Regions from separate parts of the Homo sapiens genome. Here region 2 is linked to region 1. The links are contacts of gene promoters, found by promoter capture Hi-C in human tissues and cell types (Jung and others, 2019). All regions are on one chromosome and are shown on one strand. The core of a region is centred on a gene start or on the middle of the fragment in contact, and the rest is flanking DNA. Distances in the headings are between cores, read along the strand shown.

Region 1 (3,630 bases), core at 53-2,552:
TTTGGCTCTAGGTTCAGTTCTTTTCAATGCTCACTGAGGTACCACTCTCGTGTCAGCCCAATTGGAATAATGAAGAAAAGAAATTTTCTGTCCCACATCCATCCCCCTATCTATCTCCCTGAGCTCACAGGCTCAGGAGGAGCAAGAGGGCATCTTCCACACCTCAGGACGTGGGAAACCTGTGTTTCTGTTAAGAGAGGAGGGCCTAGCCCCCAGAGGCCCCAGTCCTGGTGATGACCCAAGCCCGGCTCACCTACAGGAAGCCCTAAGACATGGTCCGGCGAAGGCAGTCCAAAGCGGAACCTCCGGGTGTTGTGGCTGATTTTCTGATAAAACAAAACATAGGCAGGTTCTGTCAGCTTTCTAGAAGCCTTGCTGGGCAGCTGAGATGCCTGGGAAAGGAGGTCCGTTTGGCGCTATTCCAGCACACACACACACACACACAGGGCGGCGGGGAGTGAACTGGAGGCCATGAGATGACTGTCTGGATGCCCTGCCATCCCAGCCATCATCCACTTACTGCCTTCCACCCACAGGGCTGACCCATTACCTCTTTCTCAATCAAGGGCAGCGGGTACTTGGCTTCAGGGTCCTGTAAGGTGATTGGCTCTCTCCTCCTGGAGTTCATGCTCTTCAGGACCAACACGAGCACAGTGACCCCAGTGACGGTGATGGTCAGGAGCAGGGACGGGTCCTGGCAGACACAATGTGAACAGAGCACCTCAGGTCTTGCCCGCCCTGGACAGGGCAGCTCTCAGGCGCAGAACACCCTCCCCACACCAAAGGCACAGGAGCTGAGCTCTGCCTGCAGGAAATAGGCAAAGAGAACAGTAGTGACACAGAAGGCGGCTGGGAGAGCCTGTCGTGGACCAGAGGGTAGGGAGGGGTCAGCTGCAGGTCACACAGGAAGGATGTTTCAGGCCCCTGGAGCAGGCAGCACACATGGCCTGGGGTGCTCAGGTCACTAGGCCCCTCCTGGCTACAGCCAAAGGTTCATACACTGGAAGTCCCTTCCTTGAGGTGAAGGGGGAGGACATCACCCCTAACACACAATCCGGAATGAGGGGCCCAGTCCCTAAAGACAGAACTAGGGTGCGTAGCTCTAAGAGGTGCCCCGTGACTTAGGGCCTGGGGACTCCCCAACAGTCTCCTGGACAGGGCGAAGGGGGCCTGGGCACTCAACTGCCAGAGACTCGGGAGCCTCCCCGCATCTGTCCCTACCCTACAAGGCCGCCCTGCTCCTCTCCCAACTCAAGCCCGACAGGGAAAGTTGCCTCTCCTCCCGCCGGGTCACTGGAGTCTCAGCCTTCCGGAATCCGAGCCGGCCCGCCCCACTCCCCGCCCTTCGCGGTCCCGCCCACGACCTCTCCCCACGCCTCCCGCTCCGGCCCCCAACCTCCCGGTCGGACGTTCGTTCCCGGCTCTAGCCGGCCTCCGCGCCTCTGGCCTCTTTCCTTCCGGCCGTCCCGACGGAGATATTTCTTCAATACTCCATAAATACACCCCGCCGCGGAACCCACCCGGAGTGAGACGCCCAACACGTCGTCGAACTGGGGTTGGCCGGGGGCCGCTCCCCGCCGCGGGCCCGCAGACTCGTGGCGTCGCCCCGCAGCTCCGCCTGGCCGACGGGGAACCGGCCGAGACCCGGACACGCACGCCCGGGAGGACAAAAGCGCGGGCGGACCCCGCAGGCTGGGACCCCGGCGGCTGGCCCGCTCCCCGAGAAGGGCCGTGGTCGGGGGGCTCTCACTCACGAGCCGCTGGCTCTGGGTCAGCCCTGCCCCCAGGGCAGCGCTCCATCATGAGGCTGGCGGGGCGCTGAGCCGTGGCGTCCTCGCTCCTGCGCTGCCCCTCTGCATCCTGGCCCCTTCCCTGCACACGCAGAGCTGCCACACTGAGCGCCCCTCAGCTTACTTAAGCTCGGCAAGGCTGGAGAAGGCCGTCTGGGTGACCGGGCGGAGGGGGATGCTGGGGAAGGAAGAATTCAGGCAGCTGCAAAGAGCGCGCGAATATATTCATTCGACATACCTCATGGGCGCCTACCCTGGGCCTGGTCCGGGGCGGGTGTTTGCGGGGTGGGGCCGAAGCAGGGGCGTCGCCGAGTTGAAGACGTGTACTCCGAGCGCTCCTGCGTTCATTCATTCGCTGGGTGGAGAGAGGAAGGACAAGAGCCCCGCGCCGATCGGAGGGGAGCAGAATAGTAGGCACAGTTAGAGGGTCTTCACGGTGCGTTTCGGAACCTTGGCTGCCCGGCTCGCCCTTGATTACAGGCAAAGGCAAATTCTTGCCTCAGGACCTGTGTGAAACAGAGAAGCCCAGAAGCAGATCCCCACCTGTTTGACTCTGCTAGGGCTGCTGTAACAAAGTGCCGCAGACTGAGCGGCTTAAACAACAAAAATTTATTGTCTCGCAGGTCTGGGGGCTGGAAGTCCAAAATCAAGGTGTGGGCAGAGTGGGTTCCTTCTGAGGGCTGTGAGGGAAGGATCTGTTCCATGCCTCTCCTAGGTTTGTAGGAGAGGGGCTAGGAGAAGGGGCATCTTCTTCCTATGTCTCCACATTTTCATCCCTCTGTGTGTGTCCCTGTGTCCAAATTTCCCCTTTTATGAAGACACCAGTCATATTCAATTAGGGTCCATCCTAATGACCTTGTTTTAACTTGATTACCTATGTAAAGGCTCTACCTTCAAATAAGGTCATATCCTTAGGTACTGGGGCTTAGGGCTTCAACATAAGAATCAGGGTGAAAACAATAACCCATAACACTTTACCAACCCTTCTCCCCAAGACACACACCACCACAGGCTCAAAAATTCTTGCTGTGTGAATGAATAAACAAACTTAATTTTCTCTCTTTGACTTAATCAAATGCCTTTACTTTTGATTTACCTGCAGGTGCTTGGTTATTATAGGCAGATATTTTAATTTTTGACAATGCGATAAGTGTAAAATGATGTATCAGGAATCCAATTTGCATTACCTAATAACTGCTAATAAGTTTGAGCACCTTTCATATATTTATTTCCCATGGAGTTTCCTTTTCAGAAAAAAAAAAATGCCTGCTCATAAATTTTGCTCATTTTTCTGTTGTCTTTTTCTTACTGATTTTTAGGGGTTTTATATGTTTTAGATATCCCTTCTTTGCCAGTTACATGAATTAGTAATGTTTTCTCGTAATTTGTAACTTATTCTTTCTTTTTTCTTTCTTTCTTTTCTGTCCCACCTTTTTGTGGTGTAGTCTGATGAATAGAAATTTGAATTGCAGTATAACCAAATATACCAATCTTCAATTTTTTTGCCGTTATGGTTAGTGATTTTTGTGACTTGTCTATTTCTACCCAAGCCCTTAAAGATATTCTATATTTTCCCCAACAAGATTTAAAGATTTTCCTTTCACATTTAAGTTTTTCAACCACTTGGAATTGATTTCTGTGTAGGATGTGAGGCAGGGATACAATTTCATTTTTCCATGTGGCTAATGTGTGTTTTTCAGTAACATTTATTGAATTGCTCACATCTGGCCACTGACCTGCAACTGACCTGCTACCCCTGGCCTATATCAGTTTTCATAGGTGTGTGAGTCTAGCTCCGGCCTCCCATTTCTCTTACATTATCTAGCTGCCCAACCTTGTC
Region 2 (3,624 bases), core at 388-2,887, 560 kb before region 1:
ATTCTATAATCCAGCAACCCTGATCTTGGAACTTAACTGAAGAGACTCTCCCATGGGTTTAATGAAGAGAAATGTAAAAGAATACATGTCACTGCATTTTGGGTGGGGGACATTAAATTGTAAGCCCATTGTCATACCTTAAAACTAGTCATTGCATTTTAATGCAATCCCTCCATTACCTCTACTCCTACTTTTTGCTCTCAAACAAGAAGCTACCACCTTATGCTTCATCTTTTAGGCACCATCTTTATTGCAACCAGGAATCCATTTAAACCTACCATTTTTCATAAAACCTTCCTTTCTTCATGTCTTCACTTCTTTCCTACCCAGGTTACATTTTATGGTTCAACTTAATCACTTCATTAACTCCTTTGTCTCTCTCTTGCTCTGATATTTTCACCTGGCAAAACCCCAACCCTGTTAGATCTAACTCTCCACACTTCACAACTATACCAAGGGAGATAAATATGGTTAGGGAAATTTTCAAAACACTGCTGTCTGGTATCACTTTAAATTTATGGTCATATATATCAAGTAGATTCTTAGTGCTGCCAGCAAACAATGTGTTGCCAAATCTGTTCATCCTCCTACTTTTCAGAATCAATGAATGTGTTATACACAGAGCAATATGGGAAGATAATTAAAACAATGTTGATTGAAAAATAAGAGAGTGAAATCTACAATAAAATATCCTTTAGGTAAATTTAAAATGCATATTGCAAAACAACACTAAAGTATATATAAAATGTTCCCATTTTTCATGAATACATACATGTTTAAGACCTTATGGAATGCATTTAACTGGGTGCCCATGAAGGGAAATGGAATACAAACCATATGAGATAATAGGAAAAGAACAAAAGGAAAGCTCATTCTGCCAGACTTTAAGACTGATTACATAGCCAAGTAAGGTGAGAATGACAAAAGAACAATGGAACAGAGTACAAAGGGTGGATGGGAAATTAAGAGAAAAAAGAAATAGACTAAACTATAATAAGAGAAGTGCCTTGCACAGACTAATAGTGACCTGTGGAGTATGATCGATTTCATTCCCTGCACCTGGAGTTTAGTTTTTATATTGAATAAAAGAAAACAGACAAGCAAATGATCTGTCCAGAGAGAGCAAGGGCAGCTAGTCGGGTGTGGCACTTCAGAATAAAGTTGTCTTCATCCTACTATGTAAGAATTCTCCAGCATAAAGTTTCATCTCCTGCCTTCTTACTCTCAAGTAGATATTTTCAGTTCTGATGTCAATAAGAAGCAGATAGGTCACACATATACACATGTGTAAAATGGGCTTCAAGCAGAATAGCTACCAACTGGTCTGCTGACATTTGTCAATGTGGGCCTAGTATTGCTAGAACATTTACAGTTATTTTTAAAAAGAAATCAGAAATATAAATTTTATGTGAGACTTCCCAGTTTTAGATTATTTGCAATCTAATTTATAAAGTTCAAATCACTACATGAGTCCTGATTAGGCTCATGGGCCAATAATTTGGTATATATGAACAGATGTGAAGCCTGCCAGTTGCTAAATTCCACTTATTTACACAGAGCTCGTCAATACTACTCCCTTATTCTTAAATATGAATGGGCAACTGTGAGCCATTATATATTTAAGGAATGCCTGTAGCATGACTAAGGTATACATATTGAAAAAAGCAATCTCTTGGGAAACAGAGATAATTCTGGAAACAGAAAAGAAGTTTAACTATCACATATCATAGTAATCTGCTTTCCAAGTCTAATAACTATTTCTGAGTTCCTACACTGACTTTTAGGAGGTCAAAAATTAGTCTCCTTATTGTCCAGCTGGGCTTTTTGGACATTAGATATTTATTCTAGACTGTAACTCACGTTGTAAAATACTACTGTGTTCATGGATTAGTTACTTTTGACTTTTTTTCTCCATACTGTCTTCAGAATAAGATAAATGTCACTACATCACCAGAGTTCTCAGGTGGCTGGCAGAATGATGACAAATTTAATTATCGCAAGAAACACCGCTGTATTGGTGCTGTACATTGTTCTTGAGAAGGTGTATCGGTCTCTCCAGACCCAAATCCAGATTTGATAACAGGAAATCATCAACTGCATTATGTTACCCTATTAACTCTAAATAAAATATCATGATATTTTAAAATAAAATCATGATTTTAAATCATGATTTTTTAAAAAAACATTATATTTTAAAATAAAATATATAAATATTTTATTTATATTAAAATAAAACTAAATAAAAATATTATGATATTTTTAGTTACATAAAAAGAAAGTGTCAATTCCTTCATCTCTTTTTTTTTTTAGAGTAATAAGACAGAAGAAGCCCAAGAGCAAATATTTTATTATAATGGGCTATATGCTTTTAAGGGATAAAAAGAGGGAATTACAGACATCCTTCGTTTGAACTTCAGTCTTACCAGGGATTTTAAGATTGATGAATTCTGACCTTTTAGTAGAAAAGTAAAATAAAAATTTGCTTGGAAATCTTGGCCATTTATTAAAGTTTTGTGCCTTTGATAATTTTTTTGTTGACTAAAGTTTACATTCTCCATTCAGAACTGTTTGCCACTTGCCATAGAGTTTTGTTTTTTCATTTGTTTAACTGAAATATACTGAGCAACTGCCAAAGCGCAAGACCTGGGATGGGGTGGAGGAGGGATACAAAGATCAGTCAGATGTAGGCTGTGCTGTAAAAATGCTCATGCTCACCATGCTGAAAACTGCTGGTAATTTGCATTAGGTCCAAAAAGAATGTTGTATTATACTTTGCCCAAAATAGAATAATTGCAGGATCTGGAGTCAGACTGCCAAAGTTCAAATCAGCTGTGCAACTTAATAGTGGTGTGACCTTGGATCAATTTCTTACATTTTCTGTTTCTCTGTTCTCTTATCTGTACAGTTGCAGTAAAAAAAATAGTGCAGACATAGATTGTTGTGAAGATTTAATGCAATACTACTTGTACAAGGGAGGCGAATTGCCTCTGGATTCTCACATTATATAGAAATTTGGGGATTTAATTCTTGTAATTATCTTTGAAATAGATTTTATTATGTCTGGCGATTAAAAAAAACAAAGGTTTTTTTAAAGAGTGAATAACATTTTTAAAAATTCATAGACAATACCAGAGCCAAAACTGAATCCTTATTCAATTTTTACATTGCAAACAGGGTTATAGAATTTTCTGAGAGAGTCACATTTTCAGATATTCTGTGTCATTATACCACAGTGTCCCAATTTTGGGTCTGTAAACCATAATCTCTATAATCCTCACTGCCTCTTATGAATTTGGAGTCTGAAATGCCTGGCATTTTCAAGCCCCAAGCCCCAAAAAGCAATCAGAGAAGGAGAAAGGAGCAACTCCTGTTTCAGGGAAAATTAAGAGATTTTGGAAGACCATGTTCTTCTTGTTTCTTCCCTTCAACCCACAAGCCTGGTCTTGCACAGTGATGCCACTTGGTATGATTTAAGGAAAATCTCCCTGCATCAGCCTACTTTCCTGAGAGGTTCATTGAACAAACACCCAGAAAGGCATAAAATGGCTATTAGGAACTAACACACTAGTGTGGCTTCATTTAATCAGCTTGCTTTCCTAATGCAAAGTAAAGTCCAACGGAAAG

Evidence for each region. The method cuts DNA at HindIII sites, captures the fragments that hold promoters and counts their contacts. A contact is called where the count stands out against the background at its distance.
Region 2: a fragment that was not itself captured here is called in contact with the fragment with the promoter of CYB5R2 in region 1 in 1 of the 25 tissues and cell types used here (H1 embryonic stem cells).

The regions. Positions count from the first base shown.
Region 1 is chr11:7,672,198-7,675,827 of GRCh38, forward strand. CYB5R2 (cytochrome b5 reductase 2) reads right to left here and starts at 1,303. Exons shown (of 9, transcript NM_016229.5): 1 at 1,222-1,303; 2 at 551-694; 3 at 254-326. The coding sequence starts at 628. RefSeq lists enhancers at 916-965, 986-1,085 and a silencer at 1,606-1,815. The HindIII fragment of the contact is 10,078 bases long and covers 1-3,630 here.
Region 2 is chr11:7,114,378-7,118,001 of GRCh38, forward strand. No RefSeq gene overlaps it. Among named protein-coding and RNA genes, the nearest start is that of RBMXL2, 27 kb to the left of the region's middle. The HindIII fragment of the contact is 6,701 bases long and covers 1-3,624 here.